Regions from separate parts of the Homo sapiens genome. Here region 2 is linked to region 1. The links are contacts of gene promoters, found by promoter capture Hi-C in human tissues and cell types (Jung and others, 2019). All regions are on one chromosome and are shown on one strand. Each heading gives the region's core, a stretch centred on a gene start or on the middle of the fragment in contact. The rest is flanking DNA. Distances are from core to core; before and after follow the strand shown.

Evidence for each region. Contacts are between HindIII fragments. The study calls those that stand out against the background at their distance.
Region 2: a contact is called between a fragment that was not itself captured here and the fragment with the promoter of KRT73 in region 1, in 2 of the 25 tissues and cell types used here (H1 embryonic stem cells and dorsolateral prefrontal cortex).

What each region holds. Positions count from the first base shown.
Region 1 is chr12:52,616,913-52,620,108 of GRCh38, forward strand. It overlaps KRT73 (keratin 73), which reads right to left and starts at 1,647. Exons shown (of 9, transcript NM_175068.3): 1 at 1,166-1,647. The coding sequence starts at 1,612. The HindIII fragment of the contact is 11,365 bases long and covers 1-3,196 here.
Region 2 is chr12:52,425,928-52,429,123 of GRCh38, forward strand. It overlaps KRT75 (keratin 75), which reads right to left. Exons shown (of 9, transcript NM_004693.3): 6 at 2,691-2,816; 7 at 2,329-2,549; 8 at 890-924. Among named protein-coding and RNA genes, the nearest start is that of KRT75, 6.8 kb to the right of the region's middle. The HindIII fragment of the contact is 7,225 bases long and covers 1-3,196 here.

The DNA.
Region 1 (3,196 bases), core at 397-2,896:
CAATCACAGCATTGTCCCAGCAGCAGAACAAGCATTCTCAAGTTGCAACCTACAAATATATCATTCCCTTGCTTAAAACCCTCAGGTGGTTCCACATCACCCTCAGGGTCAAGTCCATATTCCTTATCACACTCTTCATAATGTGCCCAGCCCTCCTGGCTTCCTTCTTTACTCATACAGTGATGTCGTAAACCGAAGGTCTCCCATTCCCCAGACAAGTTCTACCATGCTGCACGTGCTGTCTCCCTAGATTGCCTTTTCCCCACCTCCATCTGAAAACTCCTACTCATGCCTCACCACCCTACCTCACTGTCGCTCCGGGTGAGCTTCCCCTGCTCCTCTAAGCTTAGGAAGTCTCTGCTTCCCAATACCTTCCTACCACTTTGTTCCTCAGTGATTCTCAAACCTGAGTGTACATCAGCATCACCTGGAGAGCTTGTTAAAATGCAGGGTGCTGGGCCCTGCTGCAGAGTCTCTGATTCAGTTGCTCTGGGGTGGAGCCTGAGAGTGTGCATTCTAACAAGCGTCCAGGTGACGTTGCTGCTGCTGGTTCCAGGGCCACCTTTGAGAACCACTGCTCTAGGGCACCGTGACCTCCAGCTGCCTTGCCTCATAGGCTGTGTGTGTTACGGACTGAGTCTGAGCTTTCAGGGGACACAGGAGGAACAGCTGGGTCGCATGGCAGTCTAGATGCCCCAGGCTGTCAAGGGCATCTCCTTCGCCTAGCTTCTAAGTCTCACAGGCTGTCACTCTGCTACTTCTCAACTCAGAGACCGCTCTCATTGCTTCCTGGACACCTTCCTGGGCTAGGCTGCTGGCTCCTCTCACCCCTCCAACCCTGGTCCCTTGCCTCTGATGTCCAGGCTTTGTCCAGTTCCTCCCTGGGCTATGTCTGCATCCTGGGGAGGTGTCCTGCCTTCGTCTGCTTCAGACAGGGAGCACCCCAAGGACAATGAAGGCGGGGGAAGGAAGGGGCTCTACGGCATGAGCAAGCCTTATGGGCCCAGCACCTGGGGAGCTTTCAAGTTGTTTACCTGGTGTCTGATTTTGCTGGGAGAAAATGATTTCTTGCTCTCAGGCAAATTGAACCACAAATTAGGGCAGTGGCTCCCTCCTGAGTCCTTAAAAGGGGAGCCCAAGATCAGCTTTCTCCAGAAAGACCCACCTTGTCAATGAAGGAGGCGAACTTGTTGTTCAGCACCTTGATCTGCTCCCGCTCCTGGGCACGCACTTTCTGGATTTCAGGGTCCAGCTCCACGTTCAGGGGTGCCAGGAGGCTCTTGTTGATGGTGACCTGATGGATACCCCCGGGCGGGCACAACGACGGACACACGGACCCCAAGGCCACACTGCCAAACATGCTGCCAGCAAAGCCACTGGCCCGGCCCCGGCCAAATCCATAGCCTCCTGCCCACCCACTGCCACTGGCCACATTGAAAGAGATGCTCCGGGCACCCCCCAGGCTGTAAAGGCTCCGACTGCTGAAGCCTCCACTGAGCCCTTTGCCCCCTGCTCGGTAGGAGGATGAGCTGCCCCCTGAGAGCACAGCGGAGCAGCCGCTGAAGCCCCCCTTGGCAGCAGCTCCCGACTTGTAGGTGAATTGGCGGCTCATGGTGGGGAGGCCAGAAAGTGGGGATAAGATGCTGACCCTTAGCTGAGATGCAGTTCACCAGCCTGTGATCCTGGGCTCCCACTTTATAGGACTCAAGAGGGAGCCATGGGCCTAATTTGTGGGTTCAGTTTGCCTGGAAGCAAGAAATCATTTTCTCCCAGCAAAATCAGACACCAGGTAAATGACTTGAAAACTCCCAAAGTGCTAGTCTTGCAAGTCTTGCTCATGTAATTTGAGTTTTATCTAATGAACATGTGTAATTAGCATGGGCACATTATCCATAGAAAGATCTTAGGTGGGAGGTTTGTCGCAGTCTCAATTGCTGTTCCCCAGGGAGTGGTGGGGCCTGGGATTGTAGGGGTACAGAGGGGAGACCTTTAATTGACAGTGTCATCTGTTAGAAATCTCACAACCATGCCAGCATCAGATGGGCTGCTTCAGGGACCCTGGCTGAGCTGCTTTTATGTGGTTAAGAAGAGGCTGCTGCTGCCTGGCTTCCCAGAGTTCCTGGAGACAGGTTTGATGGCTGGCCAGGGCCATAGGAGAGGAGCACACTGGGAATCCAGGACCAGCCTCTGGCTGCCAGCCCCCTGCTGTGCCCTCCCAGGCAGCTCTCCTGCTCCTCTGTGCCAGCCGGGCTGCCCTGCTCACCTTCCTTTGCACACACTGACTTCTTTTTCCCTTTACCATCCCACTACCCTGACTCTTGACCTTGAAATTATGGTCATTGCACCATTCACGATGGCTGACACTGGTGCAGCACTTTACAGTGTAACAGAGCTCCTCACACAAGAAGCTCATTTAATCCACTTAGTCTGCATGGAGGGGAATGGTGATGATCCACATTACACAAATGGGGAAACCAAGGTTCAGATAATTGAGGATGTCATTCCTTTAGCAAACATTTAGTGAGTCCTTTCTTTGTGTGAATCCCAGAGAATGAAAATGCCCCCAAAAAGCACAGGCCCCAGCCTTGAGGACTCCCTTGGCTGGTCTTCTGACTCCACATTCAGAGCTATGCCCGCCTTATTCATTCGTCCATCTATCCGTCCAACCAGCCAGCCAGCCATCTACTTGTTCATTCATTTATCCATTCGTTTAACAGACTTCTCTTGAGGGCTGACTCTCTCCCAGGTACTGTGCTAGGCTCTTGGGTCCCGAATTATGAAGACCAAACCTAGCTCACAATTTTGGAGATGGGGAGGTAGGGGAAGACATTTGAATTTCATGGATCCTTGACATTGCCAAAGTATGTGACCCAAGAGTTTCCCAAATCCCAAATCCCAAATATATCCATAGTATAGAATTTCCTCCATAAAAACACAAGTATTTCACTAGCTGGAGTACTTGAATGAACAGTTGGCCCATCCTTCTTTTCTATTTCTGTATAGAGGTTATGATATGCCTCTAAAATTGTTGTACTAAGCAATTGCCAAATTCAACCTCCCCTCTGTTTTATACAATATGGTTGTTTTCTAGTTAAGAATAATCATTTTCTTTGATGTCTTCAATTTCACTAAAGGCAATGCCACTTGGAAGTCCTTTAATCTTTTTTAGCTAACATGAAGTTCTATTCCTTTTTTT
Region 2 (3,196 bases), core at 503-3,002, 190 kb before region 1:
GAGCTTCAAGGTTATGCTTGAAGGCCTGTCCCCAAAATTAGCTTTGAGGGTCTCTGGCACCACTAGACAAAGACATCAGGGAGGAAGGACACCTGGGTGGTTCAGAGGGCTCTGCCTTCTAGAATCATTGGCTAATATAATGAATTGCCCTTATGAATGCCCATCAAGAAAACCAAACTCAAACTCACTTGTAGAGGGTGAGTTGTAAGAGTCATTTCTGTTGCCCTTGTGATGCCAGCACTGAGCTCTGCGAATGACCACTTCTTCTCTCACCAGCACAGGGCCATGCCAGCTTGTTAATACCTCTCCTGTTTTAGAGCTACTGTAGCCAACTGCCATATTTTATGCTGCCCTTACTGCCTTGAAAACCCTTGGCATCCTTCTGCAGTTATACTCGGCAGAGTTGAGCCAAGCAGTGGAGCTTCTTCTCAAACTGTTTAGGAGAGAAGCTGCCTAGTTGGCAATGCTCTTGTCCACAGCATGAAGGCTCCCTTCAAAGGTCCAAGCCAGACCAGGAATTTTCATAAATCCCGTCTACATCAAGTGCTCACCTCTGTGCTAGGCTTGCAGCCCCAACAAAAAGGCAGGGAATTCTGGGAGGTAGGAGATGTGGCCAGGATCTTTTAAACCCACTCAGAACAATGACATCAAACCTCTCATCACCCCTTCTGTGACACCCTCACTCTCAAAGAGGAAAGAACTGTGACATTAAAGACTCCTAATATGGCTTGCTTTTTAAGGGACCCAAAACCTCAAACCTTCTCCAAATGAACGCTGTCTGTGAGATCCCGTCTAACCCGTCATATCTTCACCCTCTGGCAAGCCCACCACATCCCCATCCCCTCTACCACACACACTCCAAATGGCCCAAGAAGTATGTCATACTCACAAATGTTAACTGGAGAAACTCCCTCTCCACTCAACCTGATTGGGAAGAGCAGGGAGAAGGAAGGTTACCAATGTGGCCAGCAGCTTAAGGGCCTTTGCAATGACACTTTTGTAATTGTTGACAAAGCATTTAAACATACTTTATTATTTTTATTGCAGAAGTAATGCAGGTTGAAATTATTTGAGAACTAGTAGTATTAAAGATAATATTAATAATCTAATGAATAAAATAAGGTGGAGTTTGAGGTTCACAGGAGCAAAATCTATAATCTCAGAAATACAATTTTTGGTTTAAACTAGTTAGATGCCTTAAGGAAATTAAAAGTAATCATATACTGGCATCAACTGGAAAGAAGGGCCTGTCCTATAATAAGATTTGTCTCTCAACAAGGGACCATTGTCATGCACTGAGCCAGGGCTGAGCTTATTGTATATAGGTGTGGAGAGGCGTCTGAGTCATAAAAATAACAATAGTAATATCAGTTTATTATTATCTTAGCAACCAAGTAACTTTGCTTTAGCATCTTCAGGACAGAACTGGCATTCATTCATAAACACATACTGAGAAACTTAACAAGAGGTAACAGCTGTTGATTACCTGTTACTTATATCACACCACTTAGTTCTCTCAACAACCCCATGAGGTAGGTATTATTTGCTCACTTTTATAGAGGGAGAAATGGAAGCTCAGACAAGTTAACTAACTTGCCCATAGTCGCAAAGCTGGACTTGAAGACAGATTCATCTGACACCAAAGCCTATGTCTTTGGCCATGAAACTGAATGATAGCTAACATTTATCGAACACGCTGTGTACCATGCATTGTTCTAAGAGCTTTGTGTGTATTCCCTTATTTTAACCCTTTTAATAATGTGAGAGTTTAGAACTATTGTTATTCACATTTTATTGGATGAGAACACTGAGAGGTGGAGAGGTTAAGTATCTGCTCTTGGCTACACAGCTCCTAACTGGCAGAGCACAAAGCTCCCATGAAGCTTTGCGGATCATGTAATCTGACCTTTTCATTTTATCATTGAAGAAATTGAGGGCCAGAGAAGGGAGACTGACTTTCCCAAGGTTATGTAGCTACTTAGTGTTAGATCTGTAAGCCCAAATCCTAGGACTGTTTGTTCTCAGCCCATGGCCTTTTAGACCACATTTCGAGAGCTGCCATGTAACCAAATGTCTCCTTTGGTAGAATTCAGTTACTTAGACCTGATCAGGTTTTAGGTTTCTATGGGGATGCTAACTGTAGTTGCACCTCAAATGATTTACTAGCCTGGAAGGAAATTAAAATTATTTTTTTGCCATAGCCCAATTCTGAACTGCATTTTCTTCCAGGAGAAGAAGGGGCTGCAACAGCCCGAGCCCCTAGGAATGCCCAGGAAGCTGAGGTGAGCTCAACTTGCTTTGAGGATGAAGTTGGTGCATCTGCCTCACCTGCACTCCTCGCCTTCCAGCAGCTTGCGGTAGGTGGCGATCTCCACGTCCAGGGCCAGCTTGATGTTCATCAGCTCCTGGTACTCACGCAGGAGCCGAGCCATGTCCTGCTTGGCCTTCTGCAGGGCCTCCTCAAGGTCCACCAGCTTGGCCCGTGCATCCTTGAGAGCCAGTTCTCCCCGCTGCTCTGCATCAGCAATGGCCGTTTGCAAGCTGGAACACTGTAAGGACAGGAGGAAGCCATGAGTCCTGCTGACAGCCCATGGAGGTGTGGTGCTTCTTGGGGAGGAGTTCTTAAAGATGGCAGAAAGGCCCAGAAGAAATGAGCATTTGAGGAGCTCTTGGCCCTGCCAAATCTTTACCTGCTTCTTGACGCTGTCAATCTCAGCTCTCAGCCTCTGGATCATGCGGTTCATTTCAGAGATCTCTTGTTTGGTGTTTCGAAGGTCATCCCCATGTCTGCCTGCGGTGACCTGCAGCTCCTCGTACTGAGAGAACCAGAGCAAACCCAGTCACTGAGTCAAATGCCTGGCCCAGGCACTCGCTGTGCACACAGACCCACCCTGGGTGCCACAAGCAGGCTCATTCATTCCTGGTCATTCACTCATTCCCCCTGAAGCTTACAGTTTATTGGGGGACATAGACATTAACTGAATTAGCATATTATCAAATGTATAGTTCCACACTAAGATAAGTGCCCTTAGGAAATGAACAGGGTCCTGGGAGAGTGTAATGAAGGAATCTGACCTAGATTTGGAAGTGGGAAGTGGTGGTCAGAGAAGTCTCTCCAGAGATGGAGATGCTTGAACTGTGGTCTGAAGGATGAGAAGGAGGGACCTAAGTGACCAGTTGTGGGGGAGAACATTCC